Regions from separate parts of the Homo sapiens genome. Here region 1 is linked to region 2. Evidence: promoter capture Hi-C in 16 types of primary human blood cells and fetal thymus (Javierre and others, 2016). All regions are on one chromosome and are shown on one strand. The core of a region is centred on a gene start or on the middle of the fragment in contact, and the rest is flanking DNA. Distances in the headings are between cores, read along the strand shown.

Region 1 (6,007 bases), core at 2,128-4,627, 550 kb after region 2:
AGGAGTAGGGCTGCAGTCACACCTGTTTATTTTACTGTTGTGATGGCAGCAAATATAATGGCTACAGCTTCCTTGGGAATAATCCTGCTATAAGCGTTAATGGGCGAAGAGCCGTGACGTGTGATTTGGGTCAGTGTCTTGTGTTCACAAGGAGCACTCAAGGCTGCTAATCTGGGCTGTAATTTCTCGTTTCTCCTCAACCACTTTGCCTTTTATGGGGCTTATATTGATGAATGCAGAGGATAACTGTCAGCTCACCTGGTAAAGCTCAGTGCAAGAAGTTTAACAATTCATCTCGTTTCCTAAAGGCGGCAGAAGAGAAGCAAGCTCTGGGCCTTCAACAGGTTCGACCCACCCTATTCTCCTCACTTCCTCTCTTACCTCCTTCCCCCAACCTATGTAGCCCCATTCATTTCGCCAGATTGATTTTTTCAATTGTAACGGAAGTCATGTCACTCCTGTTCTTAAAATTCCTCAGCAGCTTCTTATGCAACTCAAATACAAGTGCAGTCTTGGGTCAGGGGCCCATTCTTCACCCTCCTCTCTGGATCCATGCCCCGGGCTTTGGGACTGCAGTATCCTCCCTCTCTAACCGTGAGCTCAGCCATGTGATTTATTTGGGGCATCAGTGTGTGACAGAGGAATGGGTATGCCAGTTCTGGGTCTAGACTTGAAAGTCCTTATGTGTTTTGAGTTGCTGTCTTGCATTTCTGCCCTTGCCATAAGAAAGTCATGTCTGGTCTAGCCCTGCTGGTCCCAGGAAGATGAGAGACATGTGGAGGAGAACCACCCCAGCTAAAGTGCCCCACCCATGTCCAGCCTAGGGCAGAAAGCCCAGCTGATGCAAAGATGCAGGAGCAAAACAAGCTGACCCACAGACACAGGGGGAAGCCCCACCAAAACCAGCAGGACCAGTAGGGCAGGGCAGCCAAGCCCAGCCTAGTTCTGCTGAACCCCACACACACGTGAGAAGTAAATACTGATTGCCGTGAGCCACTCAGTTGCCACACGGTTACGCAGCAGCAGCAACCAAGTCACTGGCCTATGCTTCATCTTGAAGCTCTAATGACCTGTTTAAACTCCTCCCATTCCAGACCTCCAGGGTGCCCCATACTCTGCAATCACACTGGCCTTCCCTCAGGTACAAGCATGACATGTTTTTTTCTTGCCCTGGAGTCTTTCCCTTAATGGAACCACATGCTTTTACCACTCCATGTCCTTCTGCATGGCTGGGTACTGCTCACTCTTCATATTTTAACTCAGAAGTAACTTTTTTTTTTTTTTTTTTTGAGACAGAGTCTCACTCTGTCGGCCAGGCTGGTGTGCGGTGGGATGATCTCAGCTCACTGCAACCTCCACCTCCCAGGTTCAAGCAATTCTCTGCCTCAGCCTCCCAAGTGGCTGGGATTACAGGCGCCGGCCACCACGCCAGGCTAATTTTTGTATTTTTAGTAGAGACGGGGTTTCGCCATCATGGCCAGGCTGGTCTTGAACTCCTGACCTCGTGATCCACCCACCTCGGCCTCCCAAAGTGCTGGGATTACAAGGGTCAGCTACTGCGCCCTGCCACTCAGATGCAGTCTTAAGAGAAAGCCCCTCAACAATGCCATCTGGGCTTGGCCTTCCTGATCATTCTCTGTGGAGTGTCCCAGCTGTGCTGCAAATGGGTGACAGCTGTACCAGAATATCGATGCCCCTCAAGGTTTTGCGTCCTACAACTGCCAGCCCTGAGCAGCCTCATCCACATTACTCAATTGTGCCGAATAAATCCCCTGTGTTTGCCCCAGTGTGAAAGAGCGGGCACGTGCTGCTTGCACTATTATGCTTACTTCCTTGACAAAGGCAAAATCTGGCCCTCCTCTTGTTTTTGTAAATAAAGTTTAATTGGCACACAGCCACAGCCACTCATTATGTAACAGCCATGGCTGCTTTTGAGTTACACTGGCAGAACTGAATAGTTGTGATGGTGACTGTATGGGTCACAAAGTCTAAAATATTTGCTATCTAGCTGTTTGCAGAAACAGTCTGCTGACCACTGCACTAAAGTATAAACTGTCAGAGGATAGAAACCTTGTCGCTTTTGTATCTCGGGTATCTAGCACAGTGCCTGTCCCTCAGGGATTCTCATTGCATATTTGTCCAGGGAATAGAGGAATCATGACTCCAGTGGACACCTGTGTTTAACTCCCATCTCTGTACCAAAGGCGGGGGTCCCTTACAGTTCTGGAGGTCACTCTGGGGATGGTGGTAGAGATGTGCTATATTGCAGCTGAGCCCGGAACATCAGGGCAGCTACAATGCTGGTGACCACTGTGTGGCACTTGAATTTCTCAGAAAGGTGGTAACGAGGCTCCTGCCTCCACTGGCAGCAGCCGGAGTGCTGGGTCTGCATCTGCTGCAGGCAAGACAATTTGAAAGTTTGAAGAAATAAGAACAACTCAAAGTTTAATTTACTCAAATAAGCAATTGATGCTTTAGAGTATAATTATCAGAGAAAACAAAAAAACACAACACATTCTTTAGCATACGTTATGTTAATGGCAGGTTAGGATGGCCCACTGTGCATAATTTAGCCAAACAATTGATACCAAATTTTTATATATATATATGATTACTGCTACAGAAACGAAGCACCAAGACAAAGCACAGGAGAGCTCATAATAGACACACGTGAACTCTGAAGCCCTAATTACATCACGGGGGACGGTAATCAGTTGCTGCTGAACCAAGCAGAAAATGGGGGTAATTTGTAAACAGGTAGAGTGGCAGTCCAGGTGCACCGGCATGTGTGTGGGGCTGGAGGGCTGGGGCCCCTGGGCTTCCATCTGAGCTTTGCAAGGATGGAGAGGTTCAGGATCACTTTTCTCAGCTGAAAACACAACCTCCAAGCTCTACACAGGTCAGCTCCCTCCTGGCCTGCCCTTCAGTTCAAAAAATAGAAAGTCGAAGGCTAGCTTTTTGAAGGAAGCTTCTCCATGCTCCATGAAATAGAAAATGATTTTCCGTGTCTGTGATCTGAGGCCCATTGCCCTGTATCTTCCCCTGATATCCTAGAAGACGTGAGTCCCTGGCATCTTAGGGAGCAGAGGGATGCCAGTCTATAGCCACCTTGACCACAAGGGATATTTTCAGGAGAGGATATAGTGAATTCTCCTTCCTGCAACTCCTCTGCAGACAGGAGATTTTGTGCTAGGTAATTGCTCGGGTGTATTCTGGTTCAAAATGCAGAGTCTGTGAATCTGAATCAATGAGTTGTCAGATTTCTTTCTTTCCTTCATTCATGCAGGACTACAAATCTGCTCACGTCATGGTCCTACTGTGAGCCAGTCATCAGATCGCAACCAAGAGTCACCAAGTACCTGGAATACAGCTGCCCTGTGACGTTACCTTCCATCTGCATCACCCAAAACAAACTGACAAGCAAAAAAAAAAAAAAAAAAAAAAAAAAAAATCAGGACAGTCTCAGGAGAAAGTCACCCAGTTCTGACATCCAGAACTGTAAGGGAATCGATTTGTGTTATTTTATGCCACAAAATTTGTAGTAATCTGTTACAGCAGCCACAGGACACTGATACACATGGTGGCCCCTAGAGGGAGTTCAAGACAGGATGCAGGTATTTGTGCATTAACGACATCATTTCTATATGCCAGGCTTTCATAAACCTTGGTAGACCAGGCTGACATTCCTCAGTCGATCAATCAATTAATCAATTAACCAATGGATCAATCTTCATCTGGTCTATTTCTGGCCTTGTCAAATTCATTAGCAAAACCACCATAAGCTTTTCAGCATTGCGGCTCAAGGGAATCTAAGAAAACACTTCAGACTATTAAGACTTGCTTCTCACACAAGTATTTGTGGCCTTTAAATACATGGTGAATCCATGAGGGTAAGGACAATTTGTGTCTCTTTCCCTCCCCACCCTCAATGCCTTGCATGTGCTTACTACTCAATAAATATTTATTGACTGAATGAAAGAATAAATGAATGAATGAATGAATACATATGTGAATGGCTGGAAGGGTGGCATGCTGGTTGAAAGGAGAAGCAATATTTGTGGATGCCAAGGACATATGTAAATTAAATGGCTTTGCAAATTTCTGATAAAAGGTCAGTTGCTTTATTGTTTAAACCACGGGGTCAGGTAGCTCAGGCTGGGGGTTACTTTTACATGGAAGGGAGATAATGAGTTGTGAGTTGTTTAAGAATTTGAGTAACCAATCGTATTAGGAATATGGGAAGTACGAGAAGAAGAGAAAAGAAGGACTAGAAATGGAAGAAGAGTTGGACACAAAGAGACATTTGTTGTAGTGCAGGCCTGGGGGACAAAGAGAGCAGGGTGAAGTTGCCCACACACACCCAGCCCTGGATTTCTTTTTGAGAGAAAGAGGTGGGAGCTGAATGGCTGCAGGAAGAATCTACCAGAGTCGGTTCAAAATCTCCTGCTGGGCTGAGCCAAGCTATGCTCACCGTGGAGTCCTCCTGGTGAGACAGAAAGCTTTGTTTTTCTGTGTACTGGGGAGGAACTGGGAGAAACACTCCCCGGTGAGCTCTCTCACCCTCTTCCCACCATGTGAAGATGCACAAGAAGGGCAGACATCTATGAATCAGGAGCCCAGCCTTCACCAGACAGTGAACCTTCCACTGCCTTAATCTTAGACTTCCCAGTCTCCAGAACCATGTAAAACAATTGTGGTTAAGGCCATCCAGTCTGTGATACTTTTGTCACAGCAGCCTGAACTGATAAAGACAACAGGATACAGGAAAGGAAGAACCAGAGAGAATGACTAATTTTTCTTGATCATCTACTATGTGCTGGTGCTACTATATCCCTGGGCTGAGAGCTTTACAGTTCAAGGGAAAAAAGGGAGTTAGACAAATGCAGAGAAAATGAACTAAACACTTGGATACATACTGACAATAATAATAACAGTGGCTACTTCTCTTGAGCAATGAACATGTGCTGAGCACAGTCCTGCAAGGGAGGATTATTATCCCTACAATATAGAAAAGAAAACTGTGGCCGGGTGCAGTGGCTTATGCCTGTAATTCTAGCACTTTGGGAGGGCAAGGCAGACAGATCATCTGAGGTCAGGAGCTCGAGGCCAGCCTGGCCAACATGGTGAAAGCCCGTCTCTACTAAAAATACAAAAATTAGCCAGCCATGGTGGTGTGCACCTGTAGTCCCAGCTACTTGGGAGGCTGAGGCAGGAGAATCACTTGAACCCGGGAGGCAGAGGTTGCAGTGAGCTGAGATTGTGCCACTGCACTCCAGCCTGGGCAACAGAGTGAGACTCCATCTCAAAAAAAAAAAAAAAAAAAAAAAAAAAAAAAAAAAAAAAGGAAAAGAAAAAAGGAAAGACGAGCTCCAGAGAGATTACATCACTTGCCCACAGTTGCACAGTTAGTAAGTGCACACACACACACTGTGTTAACCCACAATGCAGTTAGTAAGTGATTGAGCCAAGATGCAAAACTCAGGTGCCTCTGCCTCCAAGCTGGTCCTTTTCATTGATAGCTGATGTGCATCAGATTGTTTTGAGGCTTTAAATTCTGCCTCCGTGTTCTATTGGGAAAATGAGACTAGGAATGGAGAAATTTCTCATCCAAGTAAGGGAAACTAACAACATAGTCTCTCTTTCTGGAGAGGTCAGCTGGCAACTTTGCCCATTTCCTGAGAGTATCCTCTCACCCACGCAGATCATGATGTACATCTCTCTGGAGTGGGAGCCAGGCCACACTCCAAGCTACAAGCTGGACAACTGGGCTGATCCTTGCCAATTAAAATGCAACTCCAGCCTGCATTTCCATGTAGGTCAAATGTCCCATGAGCTATCACTGAATCCCAGAGGCTGCATATTTAATTCTGTACCCTTAGAAAGCTCTTGCTGAAATGAGGTACATCCACCACATAAGAACTTGGTTCTAATGCATAATTTGGGGAAAAGATTTAATTTAACACTTGTAAAGGTTAATGCGATAGAATTTACGAAAGAATAAATGAAT
Region 2 (6,138 bases), core at 953-3,452:
TAACACAGGTCTAATATGGTGCAAGGAACGAGTGAGAGACACCTGAGGTTATAAATAGCAAAGCATGCTGCGGGGTGGGGAAGACCATTCTGAAGTGCAATGTTCAAGACGCTGGCTTAATATATGACTAAGTGTCAGAAGTCAGGTTTTCTGAGAATTACTTTCCAGATAAACAACTTTATAGCACTGCACTTAATCTTACTTACTAGAGACATCTCATTTATCACTGAATTACAAGTAACTTTAATCCTATTGATATTGCCATAAAGCCCGTTGAAAATCCATCCTGGCACTTTTAAAGGGTTTGGGGCCCTGTTACATGGGGATCCTCTTGCAAAGGTCTCAGCCAGAAATTACACCCCGAGGGTGTCTGTATCCCCTGGCCTCTTTGTCAACAATCAAGGAGAAGAGGAGGGGCAAAAATGATCTCTGCATCTGCCAGCACTTTCTTCGGCCCCTTTCCTATAGGGTCGGGTTCTCCCACTTCAGTCAAACTAACTTTGTGTGTCTCTTTCCTCCTCCCACACTGGGTAACCAGCTGCTTTTCACTTCATCGACAAAACTGGACACGGATCAATTTCAACTGACCTTTGCCGAAAGGTGGCGCTGTTGAGGTAAAAACCAACTCGCTCCAACAATAGTTTCCACTCTTCGATCCTTTTGCAGGCTTTTCAGAATTTTTTTTTTTTTTTAATGCACCCTCCTAGCGTCTCCCCCTTCTCATAAAGTAAAATAAATACGATTAAAAACACCAAATGCATTTCATTAATTGAAGGAATCAACAGTCCCAACTTCTAAGCAGACGGGCTGGTCTTCCAAAGGCTGGGTCGGTTTCAGGAGCTTTCTCTCCAAATAAATCTCTGCTTCTTCGACTTGCCTATCGCTTTAAAATCTTAGAAACAGAGTTAGTTGTTGGTTTCCTTCTTTTTTCTTTTTCTTTTTTATTTCTTTTTTGCATAAACTTTTAGAGAATCAATCTAGAAATTTGAACTACTTATTAGCATTTGCAACTGGGGGTGGGGGGAGCAGCCTCCCCCACCCCACCCCCCACTCTGCGTTTCCGGACTAGTTCCAGAAACCGCGGTTTAAAATTTAACCCTTCGAGGGTAGCTGGTGAGGGCTGGGGTATTGTTTTTCCCCCTTGCTCCCTGCCACGATCAAGTCCGAAATAATTAAAGGAAACGTAAAAGTGCAAAGGGCGCGCCTGACCCTGATAAACAGAGGTCAGATTTCGTAAGGGGACGGGTGAGTGTGAGTGTGTGTGTGTTTGTGTGTGTGTGTGTAAGAGAGAGAGAGAGCGAGCGCGCAATATGAGTCTCAAAGGCCAAACTCCGGCCAGTCAGGAGCCGGAAGGCTGAGCCCGGCTGACCTGACTTTGAGCTTCCCCGGAGTTATCTCGCATAGGCGCTCGCTCTGTCCAAGGGCACGCGACGCCAGCGGGCAGCCGGTCTCCGTGAAGAATGGCCTCTAAACAACTTATTTTACCTCGTTGTAAAGAGAGGGATAAAATGGGCTTTCCCTCTCCACGGATGCCCAGCCTTCTGGGCAGGCGCATGGCCGGGCGGCGCCCAGCCCGCAGCCCCGATCCGGACACCCCACTGCATCCCTCCCTTCCCGGTCCCTTCCCCGCACGGGCGCCCGAGAGACGGACAAAGAGTTGGGGCCAAGTTTGAGCGCCGGGCACGGCCAGGCTCAGGGAAGGAAGGTCCCCGGCAGACACCTGGGTACCAGAGTTGGTGCGAGGAGGAAAAGCTGGGAGGCGAATTCACAATCCTGGGGGTGGAGGGCAGGCAGGGGAGGGGAATCAGGCCAATCCCAGCCGAGTGAGCCCCCAGCGAGCTGGGGCTCCGGATGGGAGGCCTGTCTCGCGCTCCAAAGAAAAGCAAACCGCCCTCCCAGGTCCGCCCGGATTGCCGAAGCCCCTCTGGAAAAACTCCTTCCCCTCTTACACCAAACTTTGCGCCGGGCCTCGTTCCCTCCCGGGTAGGCAGCGGCGCAGGAAGGGTTAAGCCAGCCCGTCCCAGCTGACAGTCAGCTGATTGGGCCCTGATTGACAGCTCCGAAAAGTTTCCTTGTTTCTATACTATTATGCTAATCGCGGCCGCTCTCGCCGCCTCCCATTGGCCCGGAGTGCCAGTCAATTTCTCATTTGGACCTGACGTCACGAGTGCTATAAAACTCAGCAATTGCTTTAAACTCTTCTTGCTGGATCAGAGGCTTTAAAATCTTTTTTCATCTTCTAGCTGTAGCTCGGGCTGCTTGTCGGCTTGGCCTCCCCCTCCCCCCTTTGCTCTCTGCCTCGTCTTTCCCCAGGACTTCGCTATTTTGCTTTTTTAAAAAAAGGCAAGAAAGAACTAAACTCCCCCCTCCCTCTCCTCCAGTCGGGCTGCACCTCTGCCTTGCACTTTGCACAGAGGTAGAGAGCGCGCGAGGGAGAGAGAGGAAAGAAAAAAAATAATAAAGAGAGCCAAGCAGAAGAGGAGGCGAGAAGCATGAAGTGTTAACTCCCCCGTGCCAAGGCCCGCGCCGCCCGGACAGACGCCCGCCGCGCCTCCAGCCCCGAGCGGACGCCGCGCGCGCCCTGCCTGCAGCCCGGGCCGGCGAGGCGAGCCCTTCCTTATGCAAAGCGCGCAGCGGAGCGGCGAGCGGGGGACGCCGCGCACCGGGCCGGGCTCCTCCAGCTTCGCCGCCGCAGCCACCACCGCCGCCACCGCAGCTCGCGGAGGATCTTCCCGAGCCTGAAGCCGCCGGCTCGGCGCGCAAGGAGGCGAGCGAGCAAGGAGGGGCCGGGGCGAGCGAGGGAGCACATTGGCGTGAGCAGGGGGGAGGGAGGGCGGGCGCGGGGGGCGCGGGCAGGGCGGGGGGGTGTGTGTGTGAGCGCGCTCGGAGGTTTCGGGCCAGCCACCGCCGCGCAAGCTAGAAGCGCCCCAGCCCGGCAAGCTGGCTCACCCGCTGGCCACCCAGCACAGCCCGCTGGCCCCTCTCCTGCAGCCCATCTGGCGGAGCGGCGGCGGCGGCGGCGGCGGCGGCAGGAGAATGGCATCAGAACTGGCAATGAGCAACTCCGACCTGCCCACCAGTCCCCTGGCCATGGAATATGTTAATGACTTCGATCTGATGAAGTTTGAAGTGAAAAAGGAACCGGTGGAGACCGACCGCATCATCAGCCAGTGCGGCCGTCTCATCGCCGGGGGCTCGCTGTCCTCCACCCCCATGAGCACGCCGTGCAGCTCGGTGCCCCCTTCCCCCAGCTTCTCGGCGCCCAGCCCGGGCTCGGGCAGCGAGCAGAAGGCGCACCTGGAAGACTACTACTGGATGACCGGCTACCCGCAGCAGCTGAACCCCGAGGCGCTGGGCTTCAGCCCCGAGGACGCGGTCGAGGCGCTCATCAGCAACAGCCACCAGCTCCAGGGCGGCTTCGATGGCTACGCGCGCGGGGCGCAGCAGCTGGCCGCGGCGGCCGGGGCCGGTGCCGGCGCCTCCTTGGGCGGCAGCGGCGAGGAGATGGGCCCCGCCGCCGCCGTGGTGTCCGCCGTGATCGCCGCGGCCGCCGCGCAGAGCGGCGCGGGCCCGCACTACCACCACCACCACCACCACGCCGCCGGCCACCACCACCACCCGACGGCCGGCGCGCCCGGCGCCGCGGGCAGCGCGGCCGCCTCGGCCGGTGGCGCTGGGGGCGCGGGCGGCGGTGGCCCGGCCAGCGCTGGGGGCGGCGGCGGCGGCGGCGGCGGCGGAGGCGGCGGGGGCGCGGCGGGGGCGGGGGGCGCCCTGCACCCGCACCACGCCGCCGGCGGCCTGCACTTCGACGACCGCTTCTCCGACGAGCAGCTGGTGACCATGTCTGTGCGCGAGCTGAACCGGCAGCTGCGCGGGGTCAGCAAGGAGGAGGTGATCCGGCTGAAGCAGAAGAGGCGGACCCTGAAAAACCGCGGCTATGCCCAGTCCTGCCGCTTCAAGAGGGTGCAGCAGAGACACGTCCTGGAGTCGGAGAAGAACCAGCTGCTGCAGCAAGTCGACCACCTCAAGCAGGAGATCTCCAGGCTGGTGCGCGAGAGGGACGCGTACAAGGAGAAATACGAGAAGTTGGTGAGCAGCGGCTTCCGAGAAAACGGCTCGAGCAGCGACAACCCGTCCTCTCCCGAGTTTTTCATGTGAGTCTGACACGCGATTCCAGCTAGCCACCCTGATAAGTGCTCCGCGGGGGTCCGGCTCGGGTGTGGGCTTGCTAGTTCTAGAGCCATGCTCGCCACCACCTCACCACCCCCACCCCCACCGAGTTTGGCCCCCTTGGCCCCCTACACACACACAAACCCGCACGCACACACCACACACACACACACACACACACACACACCCCACACCCTGCTCGAGTTTGTGGTGGTGGTGGCTGTTTTAAACTGGGGAGGGAATGGGTGTCTGGCTCATGGATTGCCAATCTGAAATTCTCCATAACTTGCTAGCTTGTTTTTTTTTTTTTTTTACACCCCCCCGCCCCACCCCCGGACTTGCACAATGTTCAATGATCTCAGCAGAGTTCTTCATGTGAAACGTTGATCACCTTTGAAGCCTGCATCATTCACATATTTTTTCTTCTTCTTCCCCTTCAGTTCATGAACTGGTGTTCATTTTCTGTGTGTGTGTGTGTTTTATTTTGTTTGGATTTTTTTTTTTAATTTTACTTTTAGAGCTTGCTGTGTTGCCCACCTTTTTTCCAACCTCCACCCTCACTCCTTCTCAACCCATCTCTTCCGAGATGAAAGAAAAAAAAAAGCAAAGTTTTTTTTTCTTCTCCTGAGTTCTTCATGTGAGATTGAGCTTGCAAAGGAAAAAAAAATGTGAAATGTTATAGACTTGCAGCGTGCCGAGTTCCATCGGGTTTTTTTTTTAGCATTGTTATGCTAAAATAGAGAAAAAAATCCTCATGAACCTTCCACAATCAAGCCTGCATCAACCTTCTGGGTGTGACTTGTGAGTTTTGGCCTTGTGATGCCAAATCTGAGAGTTTAGTCTGCCATTAAAAAAACTCATTCTCATCTCATGCATTATTATGCTTGCTACTTTGTCTTAGCAACAATGAACTATAACTGTTTCAAAGACTTTATGGAAAAGAGACATTATATTAATAAAAAAAAAAAGCCTGCATGCTGGACATGTATGGTATAATTATTTTTTCCTTTTTTTTTCCTTTTGGCTTGGAAATGGACGTTCGAAGACTTATAGCATGGCATTCATACTTTTGTTTTATTGCCTCATGACTTTTTTGAGTTTAGAACAAAACAGTGCAACCGTAGAGCCTTCTTCCCATGAAATTTTGCATCTGCTCCAAAACTGCTTTGAGTTACTCAGAACTTCAACCTCCCAATGCACTGAAGGCATTCCTTGTCAAAGATACCAGAATGGGTTACACATTTAACCTGGCAAACATTGAAGAACTCTTAATGTTTTCTTTTTAATAAGAATGACGCCCCACTTTGGGGACTAAAATTGTGCTATTGCCGAGAAGCAGTCTAAAATTTATTTTTTAAAAAGAGAAACTGCCCCATTATTTTTGGTTTGTTTTATTTTTATTTTATATTTTTTGGCTTTTGGTCATTGTCAAATGTGGAATGCTCTGGGTTTCTAGTATATAATTTAATTCTAGTTTTTATAATCTGTTAGCCCAGTTAAAATGTATGCTACAGATAAAGGAATGTTATAGATAAATTTGAAAGAGTTAGGTCTGTTTAGCTGTAGATTTTTTAAACGATTGATGCACTAAATTGTTTACTATTGTGATGTTAAGGGGGGTAGAGTTTGCAAGGGGACTGTTTAAAAAAAGTAGCTTATACAGCATGTGCTTGCAACTTAAATATAAGTTGGGTATGTGTAGTCTTTGCTATACCACTGACTGTATTGAAAACCAAAGTATTAAGAGGGGAAACGCCCCTGTTTATATCTGTAGGGGTATTTTACATTCAAAAATGTATGTTTTTTTTTCTTTTCAAAATTAAAGTATTTGGGACTGAATTGCACTAAGATATAACCTGCAAGCATATAATACAAAAAAAAATTGCAAAACTGTTTAGAACGCTAATAAAATTTATGCAGTTATAAAAATGGCATTACTGCACAGTTTTAAGATGATGCAGATTTTTT

The links. Contacts are between HindIII fragments. The CHiCAGO score rates a contact against its expected background, and 5 or more counts as called.
Region 1: a fragment that was not itself captured here is called in contact with the fragment with the promoter of MAF in region 2 in 1 of 17 cell types (M2 macrophages); the score reaches 6.6 in M2 macrophages.

The regions. Positions count from the first base shown.
Region 1 is chr16:79,045,117-79,051,123 of GRCh38, reverse strand. The region is part of intron 8 of WWOX (WW domain containing oxidoreductase); the gene reads right to left. Among named protein-coding and RNA genes, the nearest start is that of WWOX-AS2, 550 kb to the right of the region's middle. The HindIII fragment of the contact is 814 bases long and covers 2,971-3,784 here.
Region 2 is chr16:79,596,801-79,602,938 of GRCh38, reverse strand. MAF (MAF bZIP transcription factor) reads left to right here and starts at 2,202. Exons shown (of 2, transcript NM_005360.5): 1 at 2,202-4,154. The coding sequence starts at 3,037. It overlaps LOC101928230 (a long non-coding RNA gene), which reads right to left and starts at 2,052. Exons shown (of 3, transcript NR_188556.1): 1 at 1,950-2,052; 2 at 589-892. RefSeq lists an enhancer at 1,993-2,287. The HindIII fragment of the contact is 16,856 bases long and covers 1-6,138 here.